3 separate regions of the Homo sapiens genome follow, and regions 1 and 2 are each linked to region 3. The links are contacts of gene promoters, found by promoter capture Hi-C in blood cells and fetal thymus (Javierre and others, 2016). All regions are on one chromosome and are shown on one strand. The core of a region is centred on a gene start or on the middle of the fragment in contact, and the rest is flanking DNA. Distances in the headings are between cores, read along the strand shown. Region 1 holds the start of ALAS1 (5'-aminolevulinate synthase 1). Region 2 has its middle 33 kb from the start of SFMBT1. Region 3 holds the start of PBRM1 (polybromo 1).

The links. Contacts are between HindIII fragments. The CHiCAGO score rates a contact against its expected background, and 5 or more counts as called.
Region 1: a contact is called between the fragment with the promoter of ALAS1 here and the fragment with the promoter of PBRM1 in region 3, in 5 of 17 cell types (activated CD4 T cells, neutrophils, total B cells and 2 more). The highest score is 9.7, in activated CD4 T cells.
Region 2: a fragment that was not itself captured here is called in contact with the fragment with the promoter of PBRM1 in region 3 in 1 of 17 cell types (naive CD8 T cells); the score reaches 6.9 in naive CD8 T cells.

Annotation. Positions count from the first base shown.
Region 1 is chr3:52,196,065-52,199,960 of GRCh38, forward strand. ALAS1 (5'-aminolevulinate synthase 1) reads left to right here and starts at 2,096. Exons shown (of 12, transcript NM_000688.6): 1 at 2,096-2,191; 2 at 2,608-2,784; 3 at 3,146-3,376. The coding sequence starts at 3,178. RefSeq lists enhancers at 1,638-1,707, 1,718-1,937 and silencers at 2,078-2,147, 2,258-2,337. The HindIII fragment of the contact is 12,746 bases long and covers 1-3,896 here.
Region 2 is chr3:53,077,010-53,081,030 of GRCh38, forward strand. It overlaps a transcript of RFT1 not described here. Among named protein-coding and RNA genes, the nearest start is that of SFMBT1, 33 kb to the left of the region's middle. The HindIII fragment of the contact is 1,105 bases long and covers 2,100-3,204 here.
Region 3 is chr3:52,683,172-52,687,295 of GRCh38, forward strand. It overlaps PBRM1 (polybromo 1), which reads right to left and starts at 2,742. Exons shown (of 32, transcript NM_001405607.1): 1 at 2,578-2,742. It overlaps GNL3 (G protein nucleolar 3), which reads left to right and starts at 2,861. Exons shown (of 15, transcript NM_014366.5): 1 at 2,861-2,934; 2 at 3,598-3,656; 3 at 4,075-4,124. The coding sequence starts at 2,922. RefSeq lists silencers at 2,329-2,478, 2,549-2,698 and enhancers at 2,336-3,024, 3,019-3,088. The HindIII fragment of the contact is 13,677 bases long and covers 1-4,124 here.

The DNA of each region.
Region 1 (3,896 bases), core at 846-3,345, 490 kb before region 3:
TGTTGGAGTAATAGCCTCCTCCTCTTCCTCCATCTGGAGTTGCTTACAACACTCTATTTCACTTTCCATGTGAGTCGGCCTTGTTTCCCAATCTTTCTCTATATTAAACAGGAAACTCCCAGAGGGCTAGGGACTGGCTGGTTTAAACAATAAGCCTCTGAAATACAGGACTTCACCTGACCCTCCTGCCAGCCACAAGTGGCAGGGCGGGAGAGCTTTACAAATCAGGAAACCAAGCCTTGAAGAGGTTGTGGCCTGCCCAAGTCTATGGCCAAGTAAGATTCAGAGCTGGGTTTGAAACCCATGCCCAACTCCACTATCCAGTTCTTTCTGCTTTGGCTTTGGCTCTGATCACCCCCAAAAAAACCCTATGAGGGCCAGGCGCAGTGGCTCAAGCCTATAATCCCAGAACTTTGGGAAGCTGAGGGTGATCACTTGAGGTCAGGAGTTCAAGACCAGCCTGGCCATCATGGTGAAACCCCATCTCTACTAAAAATACAAAAATTAGCTGGGCGTGGTGGTGTAATCCCAGCTGCTCAGGAGGCTGAGGCAGAAGAATCGCTTGAACCTGGGAGGCAGAGGTTGCAGTGAGCCGAGATTGTGCCACTGCACTCCGGCCTGGGCAACAGAGGGAGACTCTGTCTCAAACAAACAAACAAAATAACAACAACAACAAAAACAACCTGTGAGGCAGGCATTTCAGGGATTATGATCCTATTGCCCAGATAAGGAAAGCAAGGCCCAAAGATGAGCAAAGCACTCAATATCATCCTTATTCTGTTCCCACTTCCAGCTGCACTTGGGTCCAAGTCCAAGTGCTGACCTTTTCTCTCTCATCTTCTCTGGGTGATGGGCACTGCCCAGGATCTCTTGGCTGAATGGCACAGAACTGGGTCTCGAGCTCTCAGACCAAAGCCCTCATCCTGGACTGGTCCCACTGCCACTCTGAACCCAGGTGCCTCCTCTGAAGGTGGAGACTCACCTCACCTGCCTTGCAGCCAGCTGGGTGCTCAGAGACAGAAATGCAAAGTACCTGGACACACCCTGGTCACCATCATTCTGGACTTTGTCCCTCTTGTTAATGCTCAGCTGGGAAAGGAATACCCTCAAAGGCCCTTTCCTCAAGAATGGAGGAGAGTACCTCTGAGCCTGGCACAGGCCCAGCCCAACACAGCCCAAGCCAAGCTGGGAAGGGTGTGGGGCAAGGAAGCCAGACTGACATTCCTGAGACGGGTTTGCCAAGCCCTACACTTTATGTGTTGTACCCGGGAAACTCAATGGAGGTATGGCCCAACGCTGACCTTTGGCATGGAGGCCTAAGCCACCCTGCTGGTGCCCAGGGTGGCCAGCAAGGGGCTTCAGACAACCCTGGATGGAAAATAAAAATAGTGGCTAATATTTGTTACACGCTAACTATTGTCAGGCCCTGTGCCTTCCCCTCCTCCCCAAGTGCTCAGAGCTGTGGAGTGGATGGGTTCCACCCTAGCCCTGTTCCTCTGTCCCCTCTGGATCATCTTAGACCAGAAAGTGCCACAGCTGAGTGTCCCGCTTCTTCCGCATCCTGCCAGGACCACTCCATTTGTGGGCGATATAGCCAGCTCCACCTCCTCCGGGAAGCCCTTGTTCACAGTTTCCAAAGCAAGCCGCAGGCGGGATGGATCCTGCTTAACACCCCGGCCCAGAACCCCTTGGATCTCCTTCTTCCTCCATGTCCAAGACACCCAGCTTAACAACCCTGTAGCCCCCAACTTGGCCCTAGCGGCACCTCGCCTCGACCTTGCCATTTTATACTCAATTGGGGCGTAGGGTTCTGAAGCCCAGGGTAGTTGGTGGGGAGGCAGCACGAGGGTGCAGGATGAGGTCGGGAAAAGAGACCTCGTCCGCCCACCGCCTAGCGCTTCCTCCTCCCTGCAGGCGAGCCGGGGAATCCCCGGCAGCACCGATATCCGCAGAGCCCAAGAAGTGGGCCTCTCTGCCCCGCCCCCCCGGCTCGCCGAGGGCTACGCGGCGCGCCTGCGCAGAAGAAGGCAGCGCCCAAGGCGCATGCGCAGCGGTCACTCCCGCTGTATATTAAGGCGCCGGCGATCGCGGCCTGAGGCTGCTCCCGGACAAGGGCAACGAGCGTTTCGTTTGGACTTCTCGACTTGAGTGCCCGCCTCCTTCGCCGCCGCCTCTGCAGTCCTCAGCGCAGGTGAGGGCCCGCGCGGTAGGTGCGGCGCCGGCCGAGGAAGCCCCGGGGTGTCCTGCCAGCCGTGGCACCGCTGCCCCGGGTGCTGGGACCCCATCCCCCACTGTCCCAGTCACCCGCCGCCTTGAGGTCAGCGTTTATCCTCCAGATCTTTTGCCTAGACGGCCGCCTCAGTTTCCCCCTTTCGGCCCCTTCCGGCTATTCCCGGTTGAACCCGCCGCTTTAGAATTCCCTTCTCATACCCCTCCCGTCATTCTCGAGACCTCGACCGCGGGTCACCTCTGACCCCCACTGCCGGAGGACTGCCTTCTTTCTCCAGACTCAACTCCCTCGACTTTATAAGCCCCTGCGCGTCCCCAGTGAGGCCCAAGGCGCTGGCCCTCATACCCCTACCCTCATTTGTGCCCCTCCTTTCTCAGTTATGCCCAGTTCTTCCCGCTGTGGGGACACGACCACGGAGGAATCCTTGCTTCAGGGACTCGGGACCCTGCTGGACCCCTTCCTCGGGTTTAGGGGATGTGGGGACCAGGAGAAAGTCAGGATCCCTAAGAGTCTTCCCTGCCTGGATGGATGAGTGGCTTCTTCTCCACCTAGATGTAAGCCAAGATGTCTTATCTGCACTGTGCATCTCCCTAAGAAACCTCTGGCCTCCCAAACCTGTTCTTGACCTTTCCCTCATCCTTCCGCCCCCTTGATTATGTACTGTCAGTATTCATTTGGTGAAGTTGCTTTGCAGGTGCCTTTGTGTAGCGCTGGAGAATGAAGAAGTTGGTGACCCGGGTAAAGTGTGGTCACCATTCCTTAGCTCACATCAGTGCTGTCCTTAGGCATTTTTGAGGGAGAAGTGTTAGTATTCCAGGGTACCCTTTATATAAACTGCGGTTGACACCTGAATCCAGTGAGCTTGCAGTGATATTTGCCTGATTATTAACAACTGTTGATGTCACTCTTCATCAGTCTTTCCACAGGAGCCAGCATACTTCCTGAACATGGAGAGTGTTGTTCGCCGCTGCCCATTCTTATCCCGAGTCCCCCAGGCCTTTCTGCAGAAAGCAGGCAAATCTCTGTTGTTCTATGCCCAAAACTGCCCCAAGATGATGGAAGTTGGGGCCAAGCCAGCCCCTCGGGCATTGTCCACTGCAGCAGTACACTACCAACAGATCAAAGAAACCCCTCCGGCCAGTGAGAGTAAGTGTCATTGACAATGAAGGAGCAGGTATGGGTGTTTGTGCTCATTGGTAGACTAGAAGCAGTCCCCACAGTGGTGGTGAGGGTCACACTCACTCACAGAGGGCTGCTATGTGCAGGCTGGGCTCTGAGCACAGATTATCTCATATGATTGTCCCCCCAAGGGTAGGCACTTTTAGCTTTTCCATCTTTAAAGGTGAAACAGTGGCCAGTGTTGCACATTACAGGTTTTTGGATTGCACGTTAGTGTCTATAGGGGTTTTAGTGTTTCCTCAGTGCCTCGTTCACATAAATATTAAATTGGAATGTTCTAATTTCCCTCATTAAACATTTAGCCTTCTAATTTCCCTCATTAAACATTTGGCCTTCGGCTTTTTATTTATTTAATTTTTCTTTTTTGAGACTGAGTCTTGCTCTGTCGCCCAGGTTGGAGTGCAGTGATGCAGTCTCGGCTTACTGCAACCTCCACCTCCCAGGTTCAAGTGATTCTCCTGCCTCAGCCTTCCAAGTATCTGGAATT
Region 2 (4,021 bases), core at 1,402-3,901, 390 kb after region 3:
GGGGAATCAGTATTTCCAGCCTTGCAGTATTGCTCAACCTTAAAACTATGGGTCAAGAAGAGGGGAATTAGTATTTCCAGCCTTGCAGTATTGTTCAACCTTTAAAACTATGTACCATACGTGTATTGTTTTGATCAAAAGAGAAATTAAATATAAAAGCAGGTAGGATTAATATAAAACCTCTTAAACACTGAGGCTTGAGAGGTTTAGTAAACTGCCCAAGATCATGGTGTAAAGGACACAGCAGAGCTGGAACCTACACTAGGGTCTGTCTGTGCCAGAGCCCACAGCAGGCATGAGCGTGGAGTGATCTTGTCAAAACCTTAGAATCCACCCTTGGACCAGGCAGCTCAAAGACCTTCCCCAAGCACCAATGCATGCTACAAAGATGAGCCTCCAGCATAAGGGGCTGCACCCCATGCCTGTGGGCAGGGAAACAAGGCCCTTGAGCAAACCCCTTCCAAAGCCACTAGCCCACAGAGGCCCTGTCGCCCACAGAAGGAGCCAGAGCAGTTGGCAGAGCCCCTTCCTCGGCTGTTCCGCTTCTGTTTACTGGGTGGCTTTTGTTCCCTAGCTTCCCATCCAGCTAGGCTGGTTAATCAGATTCTCTGAGGGGAGGGCTGGGGCATCAGTGACTTTACTGACACCCAGAGGAATTGCTTCTTGGGAAGCAATTACTTGTGACAGGTGCACACTCCCAGCGGCTGAGCTTGTCTGTGGCTGAGGATGCCGTGGAGCCTGGGGGGACAGGTCCTTGTTGCTGGCTTGTGCTCAGCAGGGACACCAAGGTCCACTGCTCCTCCATGGTTTTCTTGGCCTCTGCAGGAGGAAAGACTGTCAGCTGAATGACCAAGTGACAGGTTGCCACGATGTCACAATTAATACAGACCATTGACTGGGAGGCTGGCATCATGCAAAGCCCTTTTCAGATGTGGAACCCAGGCGATCTGAACGGTTTGGCCCACTGACCTACAGGTCCTGAGTCTCAGGCTCCAGGCTGGCTGGTCATCAACTCAATATGACCTGGGCAGGCTCCCTTCCATCCTAGGCTCTCTTAGGGGCGAGGCTGGGGCTGAGAGGCGGTGAAGTTCACTCTCAGGGTTCATCAGCAGGCAAAATGGAGAAGGAGACCAGGCTCTTGGAGGACTCTGTGTCAGGATATTCACTTAACAGTTTACAACATAGAAAGTGCTGGGAATAACCTGCAATGGCATATTATAGTAAAAAAGGATGCTGTGCAGGACAGTGTGAGCACGGCACAGGTGCGTACCACGGGCAAAGTCAGGACTGGCCTCGGGCAGGACATGGACCCAGTGTTTCTGTGACTTTCTGCAGGGCACTGGTTGCCCTCAGGATAATTTGTAATTAAATAGCAAGAAATACATAAAATACATAATATCAGGAGATAAAATCACTTATCAGGAAAAATAACACATGGTATAGAATATTTTAAACTTGGCCAGGCACAGTGGCTCACGCCTGTAATCCCAGTACTTTAGGAGGTCGAGGTGGGAGGATCAAGAGTGTGAGACTAGCCTGGGCAACATAGTGAGACCCCATCTCTACTAATAATTTTTAAAAAATTAGTCGGGTATGGTGGCTCATGCCTGTGGTCCCAGCTACTCCAGAGGCTGAGGCTAGAGGATCACTTGAGCCCTGGAGATTGAGGCTGCAGTAAGCTATGATTGCATCACTGCACTCCAGCCCAGGCAGCAGCTCCAGATCCTGTTTCAAAAAAAGGAATATTTTAATCTCCACCGTGACCTCTGTGCTGGACTAGCTCCCCTGCAGGACCCAGGCTCCAGCCTTGGTATGCACAGGCCCACTGGCTCTCCAACTCTCCATTCCACCCCAAAGAACTGCTGAACCCCAACTTTTCCTTGGCCCCACAATGGCCCTGGAGCAAGAGTGAGCAGGGATTATTAGAACCTTCTGCAGATGGAGAAAAGGCAAAGCTACCTGCTAGATCTCACAAGGAGTAAAAGGCAGGGCTGGGATCGGAATACAGTTCCGGGCTCTCCAGCTCTGTTGATTGTCTGGATCAACAGCAGGTCCTCTGGCCCAGTGGGCAGTGGGGATGTGGTAAAACATCATTTCCAAGCTTCAAAGGCAACCAGGACTCCTGCACAGTTGAAGGGAATGTCCCACAGACGCTGATAGAAATGAGGGAGGCCTTTAGCAGTGGGCTGTCGGATCAGAACCAGGTACACTCAGGTCACGGCTCTTTGACAATGAGAAGGAGGAAGAGGAAGGCCTGATGGATCCCCACTACTCAGATATGACCCACACCCCAAATGTCCATGGCCTCACACCTTCCCCAAGGATCAGCGCTGGGCCCAGACACATCTGGTGTCTCCCTGATGTCCACAAGTCTGTAGGCAGAACACTCTTCCCTTCCCAGGAAAACTCCACCTTATCAATAGTGTTCAGGACAGCACCCTAGGCTGGGCACAGTGGCTCACATGTGTAATCCCAGCACTTTGGGAGGCTGAGACGAGTGGATCACCTGAGGTCAGGAGTTCGAGACCAGTCTGGCCAACAGGGCAAAACCCTGTCTCTAGTAAAAATAGAAAAATTAGCTGGGCATGGTGGTGGGCGCCTGTAATCCCAGCTACTTGAGAGGCTGAGGCAGGAGAATCGCAGAGGTTGCAGTGAGCCTAGATCGCACTACTGCACACCAGCCTGGGCAACAGACCACGACTCTGTCAAAAGAAAAAGACAGCACCCTCTGGGCATCCTAAATTCAAAGCTGCTTCTGGCAGGAGAAACCAGTCCATCTTAACCTGGCATCCTACATCCCAGTGAAGTAAAAAAAACAACAAAGCAAATCAGTGTTTGCAACAAAACAAAACTCAGCAAGTTTCTGGATCAGCCTGTGATGAGTGGGTTCAAGGTGAGGACATTGGCAATTGGTGGGTGAGGCCATGTGGGGGTGCAGGGGTGTCCTCGTGGGCCACCGTGGCCCGGGCCTTGGAAAGCCGAGACCAGGAGAGCTCATGCCTGTGGCCACCCAACACATGGCAGGGCCCATTCATGCCTTTCCACTTTCTTCAGAAACTGCCACAGCAGCTGTCCCTCCCTGGACAAAGCCACCTTCTTTCCTGACGCCAGGGCCCCATTTTCTTTCTGTCTTAATCTAAGGCTGATGGGAAATATAAACAACTAGCTGAGGCAATTTCTGAAATTGGTGGAAATCATTTAACAAGCTTCTGGAGCATCCCTTCTTGTCCTGGGGAGGTGTGCGGAATGTGTGTCTGAAAGAGCATTTGCTGGCAGCCATGGCGTTTCTTCCCCGGGCCTAGTCACTGGGGTTTCCAAGGCTAAGGACACCTCAAATCCACATCCAGATGCCTGGCTCTGCACAGTCTCCCTGCCTGACACCCTTACCCGCCAAAGCTCCTGCAGGGCCAGCTGGGCCTAAAAGCAGTTTTCGTTTCTTCTTCACCTGCAGCTTCGTCTTTCAGGAGAGGGTAAAGCAATGTTTCCATTGGAATTTTAAAAGATGCTCCACCACCACGTGCACTTCTGTGGACTGGGGTTAGGTGGGAGGAGGAAGCAGTAGTGGGGAAACAAACGATTCCAGGGACCACAGTCCCTCTGTAACCTTGTGTTGGGCAGATTTAAAATTCCACTCGTTCAAGTCCACTAGGCTAGAGCTAGGCATCCCTGTCTAGTGCTTTACCTACCTCCTCTCACTCCTTACTACACCCTATGAGGCAAGTGCTATTGTGCCCATTTTTAGATGAGTAAACTGAGGCACAGGGGGATCAAGCACTTTGCTCAAAGATTCACAGCTTGAAGGGGGTAGGGTAGCAGGGTAGCTGGGCTGGGTCCAGTGACTAGGCCTGGGGAAGCAAAGCCACAGCTGCCTCAAAGCCCTCTCTGGACACGTTTCCCTCCCCGCCAAACTCCTGGCCCCACCACACACACCTGCCTTTCTAATTCTCAAGGGAGAAAGAATATAGGGCTGTTGCAAGAAAGGACGAGGAGCCTGATGGGGACAGAGCAGCCTAGGGGGGTC
Region 3 (4,124 bases), core at 1,492-3,991:
CACCCTGGACGTCAGAGCAAGACTCTGTCTCAAAAAAATAATAAAAAAAAAAATTAGCTGGCTGAGGCAGTGCATGCCTGTAAACCCAGTTACTTGGGAGGCTGAAGCATGAGAATTGCTTGAACCCAGGAGGCAGAGGTTGCAGCAAGCCGAGATCATACCACTGCACTCCAGTCTGGGTGACAGAGCGAGACCGTCTCAAGAAAAAAAAAAAAACAACATAAAGTGAAATCACTTCTGCATGTTCCCCAGGCACAGGAACAGCATATTCATTTTTGTAGACCTGTCTTACAGGATAGTATTTGGTATAGGTTATGTGCTCAGTTTATCTTTTAATAAATGTATTAAAAGTGCACTTAGGGCCAGGCACAGTGGCTCATGCCTGTAATCCCAGCAATTTAGGAGGCTGAGGTGGGCAGATCACCTGAGGTCAGGAGTTCAAGACCAGCCTGGCCAACACGGTGAAACCCCGTCTCTATCAAAAATACAAAAAATTATCTAGGCAAGGTGGTGGCATGCACCTGTAATCCCAGGCACTCGAGAGGGTGAGGCACGAGAATTGCTTGAACCAGAGAGGCAGAGATTGCAGTGAGCTGGGATTGCGCCACTGCACTCCAGGCTGGGGGACAGAGTAAGACTGTCTCCAAAAAAAACAAAAAAAAAGTGCACTTGAGACCTTCAAAAAAAAAAGTTTATTTGTATAGTTTAAAAGTCCTCAGCCAGGCACAGGGGCTCATATCTGTAGTCCCAGCACTTGGAGAGGCTGAGGCAGGATGACCGCTTGAGGCAGAGAGTTCAAGACCAGACTGGATAACATAGATTGATCTTTTCTCTACAAAAATTAAAATTAGCTGGGTGTGGTGCTGCACATCAGTAATCCCAGCTACTTGGGATGCTGAGGTGAGAGGACTGCTTGAGCCTAGGAGCACAAGGCTTCAGTGAGCCATGATCACTTTACTGAACTCCAGCCTGGGCAACAAAGTCAGACCTTGTCTCAAAAAAAAAAAAAAAAAAAAAAAAAAAATGCCTGTAAGCATCCCTTCAGCAATTTTGTCTTTCCATGAAGAGGAAAGACAGATTCCAGAGTTCAATGCCAAGTTTTAAAATGGCCTTGATTACAGTTACAAGTTCAAAAGTCTAACAATCAATAATTTATAGTGGACAGTTAAGAATACTTAATAATGTGCAACTGGGAGAATATCGACTTACTATAGACAAACAGTGTATTTCGACCGTTTATGAACTTTAGCCCTCTCCTATATTTCTAGTAATATTTAGCAATACAATACATGTTTAAAACAAAATCTTGGAAAACAGGACTCAAAGGAAAAAAAACACCTATAAACCTACTTCCAAGAAAAAAACCACTCTTAACGTTGTCATTCGGTTTTTGGTATTTATGCCTTAGTTACCTATTATTTTTTACCAAAATGTTAACAAACCACATATATTATTCTACAGCCTGTGTTTTAGTGAAGGTTCTTCCAAGTCAACATTCTTCCTCATGATGTTTGATGACTTGATAGTAATCTATCATATAGATACACCACAATTTACTTATCTTGGGAATTTTGGTAGGATATTAACATTTGAGGTATTTTGTACATTCCCAAAGCCAAAGAAAGCGGTCAAGGCCCTTCCATTCATCCACACATAAACTCTTTATTGTTTTAATTTGAAACACCTCTTCAAAACATATTTTCCAATCTTCCATTTTGGAGCTCAAAATCAAATATGGGCGACCTGTAAGTAATAAAGCAAAAATTATGCTACTCTTTTATGTGCATGAGTCCAATTTGCACTTTTTGGGGAAAAGCACATAGCCAAATGGAGAAAAAAATAATACCTAAAATTATTTGTCAAGAATCCTGTGTTGGAAAGTAAGTTAATTAAAACAATTCACCCCAACATACGCTTCTATAATTATTGTAAGAATTTCTATATCCACTATACCGTGTACTTATTTTTCAGGGCTTTTTCTATATTTTTGCAACTCTTTCTTCCCCTTTAAATTAAAACTTATTATAATAACAAAACTGTGCTTCCCCAAACCAAGAAATATACACAGTTCCCAAAATCCCGGATTCTTTGTGGTGTTGAGAAGCTGAAATATCTGGCCTCTACTATAAATACAAGTCCCATTGATTAAAATACCCGGAAAAAATACGGAAAGAAAATCACTAAGAGTTTGTGTCGAACCGTCAAGAAACCACAACAAAAAAAAGAGGCCCTGAGCAACGGAGGAAATGAAGGACTTTCCCGACCTGTCACTGGTATTGGGGACTGAGGGAAACGTTGACAGCTTTGAAGCTGCCCCGCGACGAGCGGGAAAGAGGAGCGCGGGGAGTTTCCGACCCGTAGTGCGCCTTTGTCCCTGCCGGCAGGTGCGACAAGGCTACTGGGCCCATCCGGAGGCCAGCCGCCGCGCCCCGCCCAACCCCGCGCGCCCGGCCCGACCCGCGCGTCCCCACGGCCGGGGCGGGGCTTCCGCCGCGGCTCCCGCCCGCCCGGGCCCACACAAAGGCCCGGCAGCTGACCAAGGGGGAGCGGCCCCACCCGCCCTGGGCCCGGCCTTACCCAGCCGCTCCGCCGCCTGCAGCCCCGGCCGCGGTCACCGACCGCCGCGCCCCGCCCCGTGGCCGCCACGGCTGCTGCTATTGCTCCTCCGGCCGCGGCCGCTGCCGTCGCTTCGGCACCCGCCGCCCTCACCTCCCTTACCCCTCCCGGTGCCGCCGCAAAACCAGTCCCGCGGCCGCCAAGCGATCCCTGCTCCGCGCGACACTGCGTGCCCGCGCACGCAGAGAGGCGGTGACGCACTTTACGGCGGCAGCGTAAGTGCGTGACGCTCGTCAGTGGCTTCAGTTCACACGTGGCGCCAGCGGAGGCAGGTTGATGTGTTTGTGCTTCCTTCTACAGCCAATATGAAAAGGCCTAGTAAGTGGGGTCGGGAGGCGGGCGTGGAGGGACCCACGTCTGGAAGTTGCTGCAGCCACCACGACGCTCTTCTACGGCTACGGCTTTGTCTCTGCTGGTATGGGGGTGGGAGCCTACGCGTAGGCCTTGGCCCTATTTCCTGGTAGAACCGAGAGTTGGAAGTCCCTACGGCGATCATGTTAACCGCGCGGGCTCATTCTGCGGAACGAAGCCGGGCAGAGGGTGGGGAAGACTAGGCTAGATTTTCGTAAGGAAGCAGCGTCTGAGCCAGGTTTGAGGCCCAATATTTTCTTTCCGTGGCCACGTGCAGACTGGCCCAGGTGAGAGCTGAGAATCGCCTCCCAGACTCAGTGTTCCTCTCCTGCCTTATGATTCGTGCTGTTTGACACGAAGTGGTTGTCGTTTTGTGTCTCATACGCTGTTGTGTATGATCCCATTCTAATATTGTGAGGGTAAGTGCAGGGAATTTTGACTCCATTCTGGATCTACTGAATTTAATTCTCTGGGATTTGAAAGTAGCACGTATGTTTGCATTAGGCATTTCGCATTAGACTTAACGTTAGGTTTGGTAGCCAATAACACAAGAAAAGGATATAACTCCATAGTGCGTTAACCCAGAACTAATCATTTGGGTTAACAGATTTGTGATGTGTTTCTTTGTAGAGTTAAAGAAAGCAAGTAAACGCATGACCTGCCATAAGCGGTATAAAATCCAAAAAAAGGTAAGTGTAGTGCTTGAGAGAGCTGTACCAAACACATTGCTAAACTGATTTTGCCCTGTTCCTTTGCGGGAAAGTCTGGGTTAATGTGATTTGGTTTTGGGAAATGGCATTGGATAGACTGACCATGGGCACAAGCTCTTAGGCATCAGGAGTGCAGCTGTGAGAAAGTGCAGTGATTTGGTGATAAGTCTCTAAATTTGTTCAGCATGTTAATCTCTGCATAGAGAGCCTTCTAGTTACAATTTCTTGCTGTTTTATACTTACATATGCATTACTTTGTAAGATTCCAATTAAAGCTCCATTTTCCTAGGACATTTTATAGGCATAACTAAATTGCAGCCAGATTGGTTTCTCACTTGAATTCTGCTTAAGTATAAAGATATTTTTGTAAGCAGACAAAATCTCTTTATTTTAATAGGTTCGAGAACATCATCGAAAATTAAGAAAGGAGGCTAAAAAGCGGGGTCA